3 separate regions of the Homo sapiens genome follow, and regions 2 and 3 are each linked to region 1. The links are contacts of gene promoters, found by promoter capture Hi-C in blood cells and fetal thymus (Javierre and others, 2016). All regions are on one chromosome and are shown on one strand. The core of a region is centred on a gene start or on the middle of the fragment in contact, and the rest is flanking DNA. Distances in the headings are between cores, read along the strand shown. Region 1 has its middle 45 kb from the start of N4BP3. Region 2 holds the start of DBN1 (drebrin 1). Region 3 holds the start of SLC34A1 (solute carrier family 34 member 1).

Evidence for each region. The method cuts DNA at HindIII sites, captures the fragments that hold promoters and counts their contacts. A CHiCAGO score of 5 or more calls a contact.
Region 2: a contact is called between the fragment with the promoter of DBN1 here and a fragment that was not itself captured in region 1, in 1 of 17 cell types (total B cells). The highest score is 5.0, in total B cells.
Region 3: a contact is called between the fragment with the promoter of SLC34A1 here and a fragment that was not itself captured in region 1, in 1 of 17 cell types (total B cells). The highest score is 6.4, in total B cells.

The regions. Positions count from the first base shown.
Region 1 is chr5:178,067,207-178,070,807 of GRCh38, reverse strand. No RefSeq gene overlaps it. Among named protein-coding and RNA genes, the nearest start is that of N4BP3, 45 kb to the left of the region's middle. RefSeq lists a silencer at 2,189-2,268. The HindIII fragment of the contact is 4,078 bases long and covers 1-3,601 here.
Region 2 is chr5:177,472,359-177,476,143 of GRCh38, reverse strand. DBN1 (drebrin 1) reads left to right here and starts at 2,510. Exons shown (of 15, transcript NM_001363541.2): 1 at 2,510-2,708. The coding sequence starts at 2,623. RefSeq lists silencers at 2,273-2,322, 2,333-2,712, 2,793-2,992, 3,023-3,392, 3,312-3,498 and enhancers at 2,647-3,148, 3,149-3,652. The HindIII fragment of the contact is 11,570 bases long and covers 1-3,785 here.
Region 3 is chr5:177,382,249-177,385,903 of GRCh38, reverse strand. SLC34A1 (solute carrier family 34 member 1) reads right to left here and starts at 1,470. Exons shown (of 13, transcript NM_003052.5): 1 at 1,417-1,470; 2 at 54-209. The coding sequence starts at 162. The HindIII fragment of the contact is 19,795 bases long and covers 1-3,655 here.

The DNA.
Region 1 (3,601 bases), core at 406-2,905:
ATGGAGTGCTGAGGGGCCAGTGGAGGCCTGGGGTGAGGACACATGGGCTCCAAGATGTGTGGCCTCCATGATCACAGGCAAATGGCTGGAACCAGAGACTGCAGCAGTGGCCCACAGACCAAATGGGACCGGTCACCCCATGGCAGTCACTTGTCCAAGGCCAGACCAAACCAGACCCTCCACTGTGGAGGATGGCATGAACCTCAGGGCATCCCTGGGCCTTCTGTCCTTGCACATGTCACCTAAGTACCCCCCACCCCCACACGCATACATACATACACATACACATACACATACACATACACATACACATACATACACATACACATACACATACACATACATACACAGGGCTCATTTGCACAAGGAGGGGGATTCAATATCATTTCCATCCAAATGATAGAACATTCATCTGAAAGACATCGTCTTTCACAAGATTCTGTTTACACATCTCTAGGTTCAAAGTTGGACTTTAAAAGAAACTCAGAAGAGACTGAGATGCTAAGTTGAAGTCTTGGCACCCCCCACCCCCACAAGCACCCATGCCTTGGGAAGAAGATTCACTTGGACACATCTTTTCTGCTCATCTAAGCAGTGGTGTGAGCAAATCCCAGCCATCCTCCACGATGTGTCCCCTACTGAAACCTTCACACTGCCAGAGGGGGGTGCTGGTGTTCCGCCTCTTTCACAGATGAGGAAGAGAGGATTGGTGGGGTGAGTCGGTCTCACAAGCACATGCAGTTATTTGCAGAACTGGGGCTGTCCAGTTCCCAACCAGAGTGTCCCTCCACCAGGCTCACTGTCTCCCCAAGGCGCCAGTGTTTCTGGGTTGGTCTCACATAGATGGCTGTGGCCGAGCCTAAGCCAGAAAGGCAGGGTTTCCTCCAAGTCATGCTGGGAAAACACTACTTACAGACACGTATGCACTTCTGGGGCCCCCACGATGTGTATGTTGGTCTGCTTGATGGTGTCTCGCAGATCCTATAGACTCTGTTCAGTTTTCTTCAATTTTTTTTTTTTTTGAGAGGGAGTCTGCCTCTGTCACACAGGCTGGAGTGTAGTGGCACGATCTCAGCTCACTGCAACCTCCATCTCCTGCCTCAGCCTCCCGAGTAACTGGGACTACAGGCACACACCACCACACCTGGATAATTGTGTGTTTTTAGTAGAGACTGGGTTCCACCATGTTGGCCAGGCTGGTCTTGAACTCCTGACCTCAAGTGATCCACCCGCCTCAGCCTCCCAAAGTGTTGGGATTACAGGCATGAGCCACTGTGCCTGGCCTCTTCAATCTGTTTTCTTTCTTTGTTTTTTTGGAGACAGAGTCTCACTCTGTTACCCAGGCTGGAGTTCAGTGGCTGGATCTTGGCTCACTGTAACCTCCACCTCCCAGGTTCAAGCAATTCTTGTGCCTCATCTCTCAGAGTAGCTGGGACTATAGGTGTTCACCACCATGCCTGGATAATTTTTTTTTTTTTTTTGGAGATGGAGTCTTCCTCTGTCGCTCAGGCTAGAGTGCAGTGGCATGATCTCAGCTCACTGCAACCTCTGCCTCCTGGGTTCAAGCAATTTTCCTGTCTCAGCTTCCCAAGTAGCTGGGATTACAGGCACGTGCTACCATGCCCAGCTAATTTTTTAAATTTTAGTAGAGATGGGGTTTCGCCACATTAGCCAGGCTGGTCTTGAACTCCTGGCCTCAGGCGATCCACCAGCCTCAGCCTCCCAAAGTGCTGGGATTACAGGCGTGAACCACCATGCACAGCCAAGTTTTGTACTTTTAGTAGAAGACAGGGTTTCACCATATTGGCTAGGCTGGTCTCAAACTCCTGATCTCAGGTGATCGACCCATCTTGGCCTCCTAAAGTGCTGGGATTATGGGTGTGAGCCACCACACCCGGCCAGACTTTTTTTTTTTTTAAATTAATCTTTGTAGTCTGTCTCTGTGCCAATGATCAGCCAGAGCTATAAACTTAAGGTTTTCTCAAGTCTTCTCTGAACGTGCGTCTTCCCTGGGGCACACATGGTGACTCTCTAATTTCCCCAATATATGCAGTTGCTTTAGAATGTTCTGGTCTTCAATGTCTGCCTCCCAAGAGGGGAGAAAGAGAAATGTGAACCAGGTGGGGGCAGGCCCACAGTCCTTAAATCCTCTGGAAGTCACTTCAGTCAGAGGGGGAAGGGCTTGTAACATTGGGGGCAGGTGCAACCACAATAACCACCACCTCTTTGCACCTCAGTGATCAGAAGCAGCAATCAGTGAGCAGAGCACAGACCTCCCGTATTTGGAGGACAGGGTCCTTTTTGTTCACCCGGCTCCCACCCACCAGCTGTCTGCAAGCTGCTCCAGGAACATGTGCACAGCTGCCTGCCAGGGGCATGGGATGGGAGATGGGTGGCTGCTGCCTGCTGAGAGCTGAAATTGACCCAAATTAGCCACAGTTGGAAGCCGTCAATAGACTCCAGAGTGCCAAAATAGTCACATCAGACAGATTCTGCCGGCGCAATTGTTGTCTAGGTGAAGAGACAGATTTCTGGAACTTGCTACTCCACTGTCTTAGAATCTTCCTCTCCCCAATTTTTTTATTTTGAAAAATTTTGGCCAGTAAGGTTTTTTCAAAGGAAAGAAATTGGCTGGAAGATACTTATATACTAACATGTTTTGGGAGGAAGTTTTCTCCCTTCTGAGGCACATGCCTGTCTCTCAGTAAACACTGGCCTAAAGCAAGGTTGGGAAGTGACTTTCTCCCCGACAATATGTCAGGCTGGTGGGAAGTCTCCTCTCAGGAACGTCTGTGAGAAGAAGCAAGTGATTACAAGCTGGTGGATGCATAAGGAGCTCTTGATCTTGGGAGTGGGAAGGGGCCACTCCCATCTGCACATGGCCTCTTGCTGTTTCCCTGGCTTGTAGCATGGAGATTTATGGGCATGTAACTTTTACAGTCACTTTTTTTTTTTTTTGAAACAGAGTCTCGCTCTGTCAGCCAAGCTGGAGTGCAGTGGCACAATCTCAGCTCACTGCAACCTCCGCCTCCCGGGTTCAAGCGATTCTTGTGCCTCAGCCTCCTGACTAGCTGGGATTACAGGTGCACGCCACCACGCCAGTCTAATTTTTGTATTTTTAGTGGAGATGGGGTTTCGCCATGTTGGCTAGGCTGGTCTTGAACTCCTGACCTCAAGTGATCTGCCCGCCTTGGCCTCCCAAAGTGCTGGGATTACAGGTGTGACCCACCATGCCCTGCCATGATGTCACTTTTCTAGCAAGAGGTCTCCTTGTCTGTATTCAAGTGGGGGGAGGTAGAATGGGGAGCAACAGGTGTGACCAGAAAACAGTCTCCCCACCCAGCCCACCCATCTCTTTCCCCATCCCAGGAGGGTCCTCTGTGGCCTGTGGAGGGTGACAGTGCCCCACACTGGGAGCCCTTTTCCTCCCAGATCTGAGCCCCTTCTGAAGGGGTGGGATGATTTGAAGGGGAGCTGCTCTGGTATTTCAGGAGGTTGAAAAAGGAAGGTGGCTGTACGTCTTGTGCTGGATTTCCTGGGCCTGGAGAGGACAAGGGCCATGGAATCTACAGGGAGAGATGCTGGAGCCCACTCAGACCCT
Region 2 (3,785 bases), core at 1,261-3,760, 600 kb after region 1:
CCATTTTATTCTCACAACAGGTTATCAAAAGGAAACTCAGAGAGGGGAAGTGTTTCAGCCAAGGTCACACAGCAAAGGCCCAGTTTCTGGATCTCAGTCCTCCCTTGTCTCATCTTTTCCACTCTGGGGATCCAGAAGTCATTGGCCCAGCCTCCCGCTGTGTGTAGGGGGAGCTCATGCTCTGGGGGTGGGAGAGACCGACCTGTCAGTGACTTGAAGGGTGATCGGTTTGGGGGTGGCAGACACGAAGTCCTGGTAGGAGGAACCCACCAGCCTCCCACCCACCAAGGCTGAGTGTGTGGGCTTCAGGGGCAACAGCAGCTGAAAGGAGGCAGGTTCTCAGAGGACAGTGACCAGTGGCCACCCACTCCCACCAGTCAGGGCAACTGAGAACTATGGGTCCACTGAGTTTGGCAAGTTAGGGGTTACTGGTGACCTTGGCCAGAGCAGTGCCAGAGAAAATGCGGGGAGGAGGAGACAGAGGACAGATGTCTGTCTGCATCCTATAGAAATGAGGGGATGAAGATAACCTGGAAGGGTGACGGGTGCGGAGACCAGGGGAGTGGGCTCTAGGGCATGCCAGCAGGGAACACCCTTGCTTCCCTGAAAATAGGGAAAACTGAGTGCAGGGTGTATGGGAACTCTCTATACTATCTTTGTAACTTTTCTGTAAATCTAACACTGTTCTAAAATAGAAAGTTTATTTAAAAATGTTGATGGCAAGAGGTGAGAGTGGGCGTGGCTGGAGAGTTTGTAGGTGGCTGGTGGGGAGGCAGGAATTTGAGGAAGGAAGAGCTTAGATGCATTTAGGGCTTCTGTTTTTTGGATGCAAAATTGAGTGTGCAGGAGGCTGGGGGGTGAGGGGAGCGGGGGGGGCGAGGAGCTGTGAGCTAGGACAAATCAAAGGAAGCTGGAAGAGGCTGAGGCCACAGATGCTCATGGCCAGCCATCTGCTGCCCCTCCCCGGCTGCAGGGTCTCCCTCCTCACCAGAATCAGGCTCTTCATGCCTAAGGGTGGGGGATGGCTGAAGCTCTGTCCCTCCATGGCTCTCCCCACTTCCCTTCCCCACCATGTGTCACCCACTCCCTTAGGGATCCCCATGGCAGGCCAACCACACCTACTGGCCAGTTGGTCTAGGGCACAGGGCCTGGCTGTGTCCCTGCCTGGGTGCCTCACTCTAGTGGTGGCCATGGAGAAATTGCCATGGCCTGTGGTCCCTAGACATAGTGGGCACTGACTTCCCAAGGCAGGGGCCTGTGAGTATTTTGAGTTTTAAGAGGGTTCTCCCAACTCCAAAGCGCCAGGAACACTGCCACATAGGCAGCCCTGCTCTCCTTCTCTTGGCATAGCCAATTACCCAACGCAGAACTCGGAGGCCTGGCTAGAACCACCTCCTCCTCCGCGGTGCGGTTGGGACCAGGTGAAGTTTGCTCAGGGAGGTCGAGGTTGGAGGCTTTGTAGTGGTGGAAAAGGCTTCTAAGCGCTGTGGACGGTTTCAGGGTCCCAACCTAGCAAGGAACGGAGTTCTGGAAGGCCCTGGCATGGTGTCCACTCCCTTGCAGGGGGTACTTTTCTGAGGCCCCCTCCCGTTCTGTGCTTAGAGCTTTAGGAGATAAAGGTGCCAAGAGGCTGGCCCTGAGCGTCCTTGGAGGAGCCCTGCCGTGGGAGTCTGGGGTTAGATGCTGCTTCCGGAACTCTACTTGGGACTCCTCTGGGAGGCGTGAGGCTTGAGAGAGAATGCAAAGGATCTCCTAGCTGGCCCCATCTGAGAGGGCACAGGCGTGGAGGGGAGGAGAGGCCTGGAATGGAGGGATAATGAGCTGGGTAGGGGCTGAGAATGGCCTGGAATAAGTGGTCATGGAGCCGAGATGGGGGGCTGTGGTTGGGAATTGGGAACTGGGATCAGGATGAGACTGGGATGGGTTGGACTGAAGATGTGCCGTGACACATGTTGGGGGGGACACGTGCTAAGCATGGGGCTGAAGCTGGGATGGGAAAGCAACTGGGGTGGATTTGAGGGTGGGATGCAGATGACAGTGGATATGATGGGATAGACTAGGCAAGGACCTCTCAGGGAAAGGAGACGGGCCAGGGGTGGGGTGTTGTGTGAGCTGGGTTGGGATGAAAATGGGTTTAACATGAGGTGGGACGCACCAGGAATGGAGATCAATGAAGCAATGGGTGGGGCGGAACCGGATTGGGACGGGGGGTGGGCGGGGGGAGGTGGGGACGGGACTGGGTTCGGGGCTGGAAGGAGGGCTAGCGCCGAGGTTACGGACGGGGCAGGTGAGGGTTCGGGACGTGGGTGGGGCTGGCCCTGGAGCGGCGCGCAGGGGCGGTGGGTGAGGGGCGCCCGGGGCAGGCCGGGAAGGGGGGGCGGGCCTCCCCCTGGGCCGGGCCGGGGCGGCGCTAGGACCGAGCGAGCGGAGGGAGCGAGCCGGGCGGAGCCAGCGCCCCCCGCCCCCCGCCGGCCGGCTCCCCTCCCCCGGCCGCTGGCTCGCTCGGCTCGCGACGCTGCAGAGGCTCCGAGGCGGCGGCGGCGACTCCCTCTTTCCCTCCCTCCTCCTCCGTCCGCCCGTCCGTCCGCGCGTCTGTCCGTTCGGCCCGGTCCGGCCCGAAGCATGGCCGGCGTCAGCTTCAGCGGCCACCGCCTGGAGCTGCTGGCGGCTTACGAGGAGGTGATCCGAGAGGAGAGCGCGGCCGACTGGTGAGCCCCCCGCCCCCGCCCCCGGCCCCTTTGTCCCCGCGCCGCCGCCGCGCCTTTGTTTCTCTCCCGCCCCGCCGCCCCGCCGCCGGGAAGGGAGGGGGACCCCGAAATGGTGCAGCGGGCCGGGAGGGCCGGGAGGGGCTGCCTTTGTGCGCGCCGGGGGAGGGGCCGGCGGGCCAGGCGGGGCACTGCCGGGCCCCGAGCGCCCGGAGGCGGCCCAAGGCGCGCGGTGGGAGCGGCGGCCGGACGCGGCCCGGAGGCGCGGGGTCCCGATGTGGGGCCCGGGGCCGCGTGGCCCTGCGGGAGCCCATCCCCCACCCTACCCCCCGGGCCCGGGGGACAGGTGTGCACGGGGCGGCCAAGGGCACCTTCGCCACCTTCGAGCGGGCGAGGTCCGGGCGGGGACGGGGCGGGGACCGAGCTAGCGGAGCCAGCGCAGCCTGCCCGGCTCAGCCCGGCCCGGCCACAGCACAAAGGAAAGCGAGGGCGGGGGAGGAGCGGAGCGGGCTGGGGGCCGGGCGCCCCGCCCACCGGGGGGCCTCTCGGAGTGGGCCGCCCTCCCCCCGAAACCTGGGCTGGAGTGAGGTGGAAGGATGTTTGCTGCCACATGGCGACCGCGAAGTGACTCCCTTACCGCCGCGGGTCGCGGAGGAGGCAGGGGTGAGCTCTCCTCCCCTACCTGAAGGGGACTGCGGGGACTAGGCAGCTGGGCTGGGGGGCACCGAGCTGCCTAAGGGGCCAGCTGAGATCCCTGGGAGGAAGCCCTCTGGAGAACAAGTGTGGAGGGAGCCCCCAAAGACGGCTGAAGGGGTGAACAGATCCACCGGCCCCCAGCAAGGGGCACTCGGTCCCTGATGGGGGAGGAGCTGGGCCGCCCCTCACCCCGCCCCCCAGCTGTTGTCTCCCGCTGAGCTGGGGGAGGGGATGGACCACCTGCTCTGGGGCTGGCGGCCCAGGGTGGTGGAAAAAGGAAACCGAGGGGTTCCTCACAGCCCCATCCTGGAATCCTTTAACCCCCCCGTAATACTCTTCTTCTAGGGAAGGTGCCCATCTGGTTCCTAGGCCTCCTCTCCCTGC
Region 3 (3,655 bases), core at 221-2,720, 680 kb after region 1:
GGATGTGGGCAACCGTGGGCAACCAGGGTCCAGGGTGTGGGAGCAGCACTTACCCTGAGGGCTGGGCACGTAGGCAAAGGCCGTCCCTCGCATCACATGCCCCCCACGGACTGGGAGTGGGGAGACAGCAGGGGACCCCAGCCTCTCTCCGTAGGACAACATCCTGGGCACCCACTATGAGGTCTGCAGGTCAGTGGGTCTCAGCAACGCTGAATGACAATAGCTGTGTCCGGGACACTCATGCCCACACACCCTCACCTGCACAAACCCCCATGGCGCATGATTCCAAATACACACCTAGCAAAGCACACCCTCCATCCTCACCACACACACACACCCCTCCGAGACTCACACGCACAAACACACACCCAGCAAACCACACCCTCCATCATCACCACCACAGCCCTCCGAGACTCACATGCAGACTCACATGTGCACATCTGTGCTGGGCACCTGCATGTGAGTCTCGGAGGGGTGTGTGTGGTGGTGGTGAGGTGATCATTCATTCACCATTCACTCATTCAATGAGTATTATTGAGCTCTAGCCCAGGCTCCGAACCAGAGGCTTGGATATAGCATTGATAAAAGACACTGAGAACTGAGGACGCCCAGCCTGTTTGGGGCTGGAGGGGGCCAGGGAATACGTGGTGTTGGCAGTGGCTGCAGGTGTGGGCTGGGGCTGGGCCGGGCTTCAGTTTTGCCCACCTGGAGAGCAAGGAGGAGCTGCAGACACCTGCCTTCTCATGGGGTCAGCTGGGCACACACGGAGATCCCCTGGGCCGGATCCCGAGTTCCTGGGTTCCCCTCACAATGAATTCCTTTCCCCATCCACCCCCTCAAGGGGCAATGAACAAACACTGACAGGCTTGCCTCAGCCCCCCCTTGTCCCCGCACTGCCCCAGGAGTCTTGGCTATTGGGGTGGAGTGCCCTGATCTGCCTCAGCACTCCCCGCATTGTCCCAGCGTCCTTGGCTGTTGTAGGGGTGTGAAGAGTTGAATTCAAGTCCTGAAGGAGCAGGAGTCCTTTTTTTTTTTTTTTTTGAGATGGAGTTTCACTCTTACCGCCCAGGCTGGAGTGCAGTGGCACAATCTTGGCTCACTGCAACCTCTGCCTCGTGGGTTCAAGCGATTCTCCTGCCTCAGCCTCCCAAGTAGCTGGGATTACAGGTGCCTGCCACCACACCTGGCTAATTTTTTGTATTTTTAGTGCAAACTCGACCTCAGGTGATCCGCCCACTCGGCTTCCCAAAGTGCTGGGATTACAGGTGGGAGCCACCGCGATTGGCTGGACTGACATGTTATATGGGGCGCGGTGGGGGTGGGCGCAGATAGGACACAGATGAAGGGGCTGGGGTGCTGGGCTGTTTCCTACTCAGAGCTGGGGGTGGGGTTGGGATGTGAGGGTCCTGGGCTCACCTTAGAATTCTGTGTTTCAGCTTCTGCTCAGCAGCTCAATGAAGCCTCCAGGACCCTGAGGAGAACTGAGACCCTCCTCTTTATACTCTTGGGTCAAGGGCAAAGTCCCTGGAACCCTAGCTGCCCTCCCTCTGTCCCCCAATTAACCTCACCCCTGAGATTCCTCCCAGTTAATTGCTAATCGTCAGCTCTGCATGGGGAATCTATGGTCAGGTTCTTCCCATCAACCACGACCCAGACACATCCCCCGCCTGCAGGCAGAGACCCTGATGCCACTCAGCACCTTGTTCCCAGGGTCCCCTCGTTCCTGGCCTGACAGGACTCCCCAGGGAATGACCCAAACATCCTATGGCCTTCGGAGGTTGCAGTGAGCCAAGATCGTGCCACTGCACTCCAGCCTGGGTGACAGAGTGAGACTGTCTCAGAAAAACCAAACCAAACCAAACAAAAACATCCTATGGCCTTGCCAAGCGTCGGGGTGTCTGTAAGTCTCCCAGGGGGAGCTCAGAGGAGAGGGAGTGTGAGATGAGGACCTAAGCTGGAAAGGCCGTGGAATGTTGAATCGTGGCAGGTCTCTAATGCCCGACCATGGGTCCAGGATGTGAGTCTGAGTGAATGTGGAGCCGCTGGCCAGACTGGGATGGGCCTGATCTGCCTTTTAGAATGGCCCCCGGGGTGGAACCCGGATATATGGAAGGGAGCCTGGAAGCGGAGGGGCCAGTTAAGAGGCTAATGGTCCAGGCAGGAGATGATGAGGCCTGAACTCCGATGGGAACGGAGGGGCTGGGGAGGACAGGTGCATCCCAGGGACATCTGACCAGTAGAATTGGTGACGGGGAGGGAGAGAGGAAAAGGAAATAGATGGGAGTCGGGTCTCTGGATCTTTGGCTAGGGCTGGGTTCATGCCCAGGTAGGAGGGTGTCGCTGAGTCACGGAAATGCAATCAGTTCTCAGTTCTTGTGTCAGAATCTCTGGGTCCTTGGGCTTGAAGGTGCTGTTAATGTCACATCGAGTGTCTCCACCTATGAGCAAACTGACACCCCCACAGCGGGCCCAGAGACCCCGGCCCACGTGACCTGTTTCTCTCCATTCCCCCGTGCAGTTCAGACCCTTGGCAGGAGCAGCTGAATCCAAGGTGCTCCTGGTGAACTGGGGGTGTTTCTCCTTTTTAATAAGGTTGTGCTTTTTGATATTTTTGAAGTTTGCCTTCCCTGCTGTCACGGAGCTCTGGGTTTAGTGGGGGAGGCAGTTAGCTATCGATCAAATCCATCAAGAGATATAATTCCAAAATGCTGCTGATTTACACAGCCACCACTTCTAAAGATTTATTTTGGGGCTACAGCCCTAGTGAAAGTGAGAAAATGCTGGATCTGACCAGAGCTGCTGTTGGGACTCATACAAGCAGCAGAGAAGGCAGCTCCATTCCAGCACCAACGTATCTCTTGCCAGCCTCTCTGCCATTTCAGCACCTCCCTGCCTACTGCCTGCCTCCTCCCTGGCCAGTGACAGAGTCTGTGTGTCCCCCTGGGTGGTGAGTCCCACCTTGTCTGTGCACCTGGGCTCTGGCCATGGCCTCCCCAGACCTTTTCTGGGCTGAGAGCCTGCCTGGTTGGGGGTGTCTCGCGTTGAGAAAGGAACCCAGCAGGAGGAGCTGTTTTGGAGGGAAGGTGCCAAGCTCCGTCTGCTCAGGCTTTCTGAGCGGCCTCTGGCACGAGCAGTTGGCTCTGCAAGCCAGAAGCACGCACTGTGCTTCTCACCCCAAACCTGGGCCTCCTCCTTCTTCCTGATCTTGGTGAGCGGCACACCGTCCATCCATCTGGGTCGGGCACCAAGCAGACATCCTTGCTGTTTCCTTCCCCTCCACTTCCTCGTTTCCAACTCAGTCCTCAATTCTCCCAATTTTATTGCTCCAGGAGCTCCCTGATCTTTTGCTGTTAGCCATCTCTGTGGCCACCTCCCTGGACTGGGCCTGTCATCTCCCCTGGGTCATTGCGGTCACTTCCCAAGTGCTCTGTCCATTTCTGCCCTTGCTGCCCCTGATCCATGCTCCAAAGCAGCAGACAGCAATCTTTTCAAAATGCCAAACTAGGCCGGGCGCGGTGGCTCACGCCTGTAATCCCAGCACTTTGGGAGGCCAAGGCAGGTGGATCACCTGAGGTCAGGAGTTCGAGACCAGCCTGGCCAACATGGTGAAACCCCATGTCTACTAAAAATACAAAAAAATTAGCGGGGCGTGGTG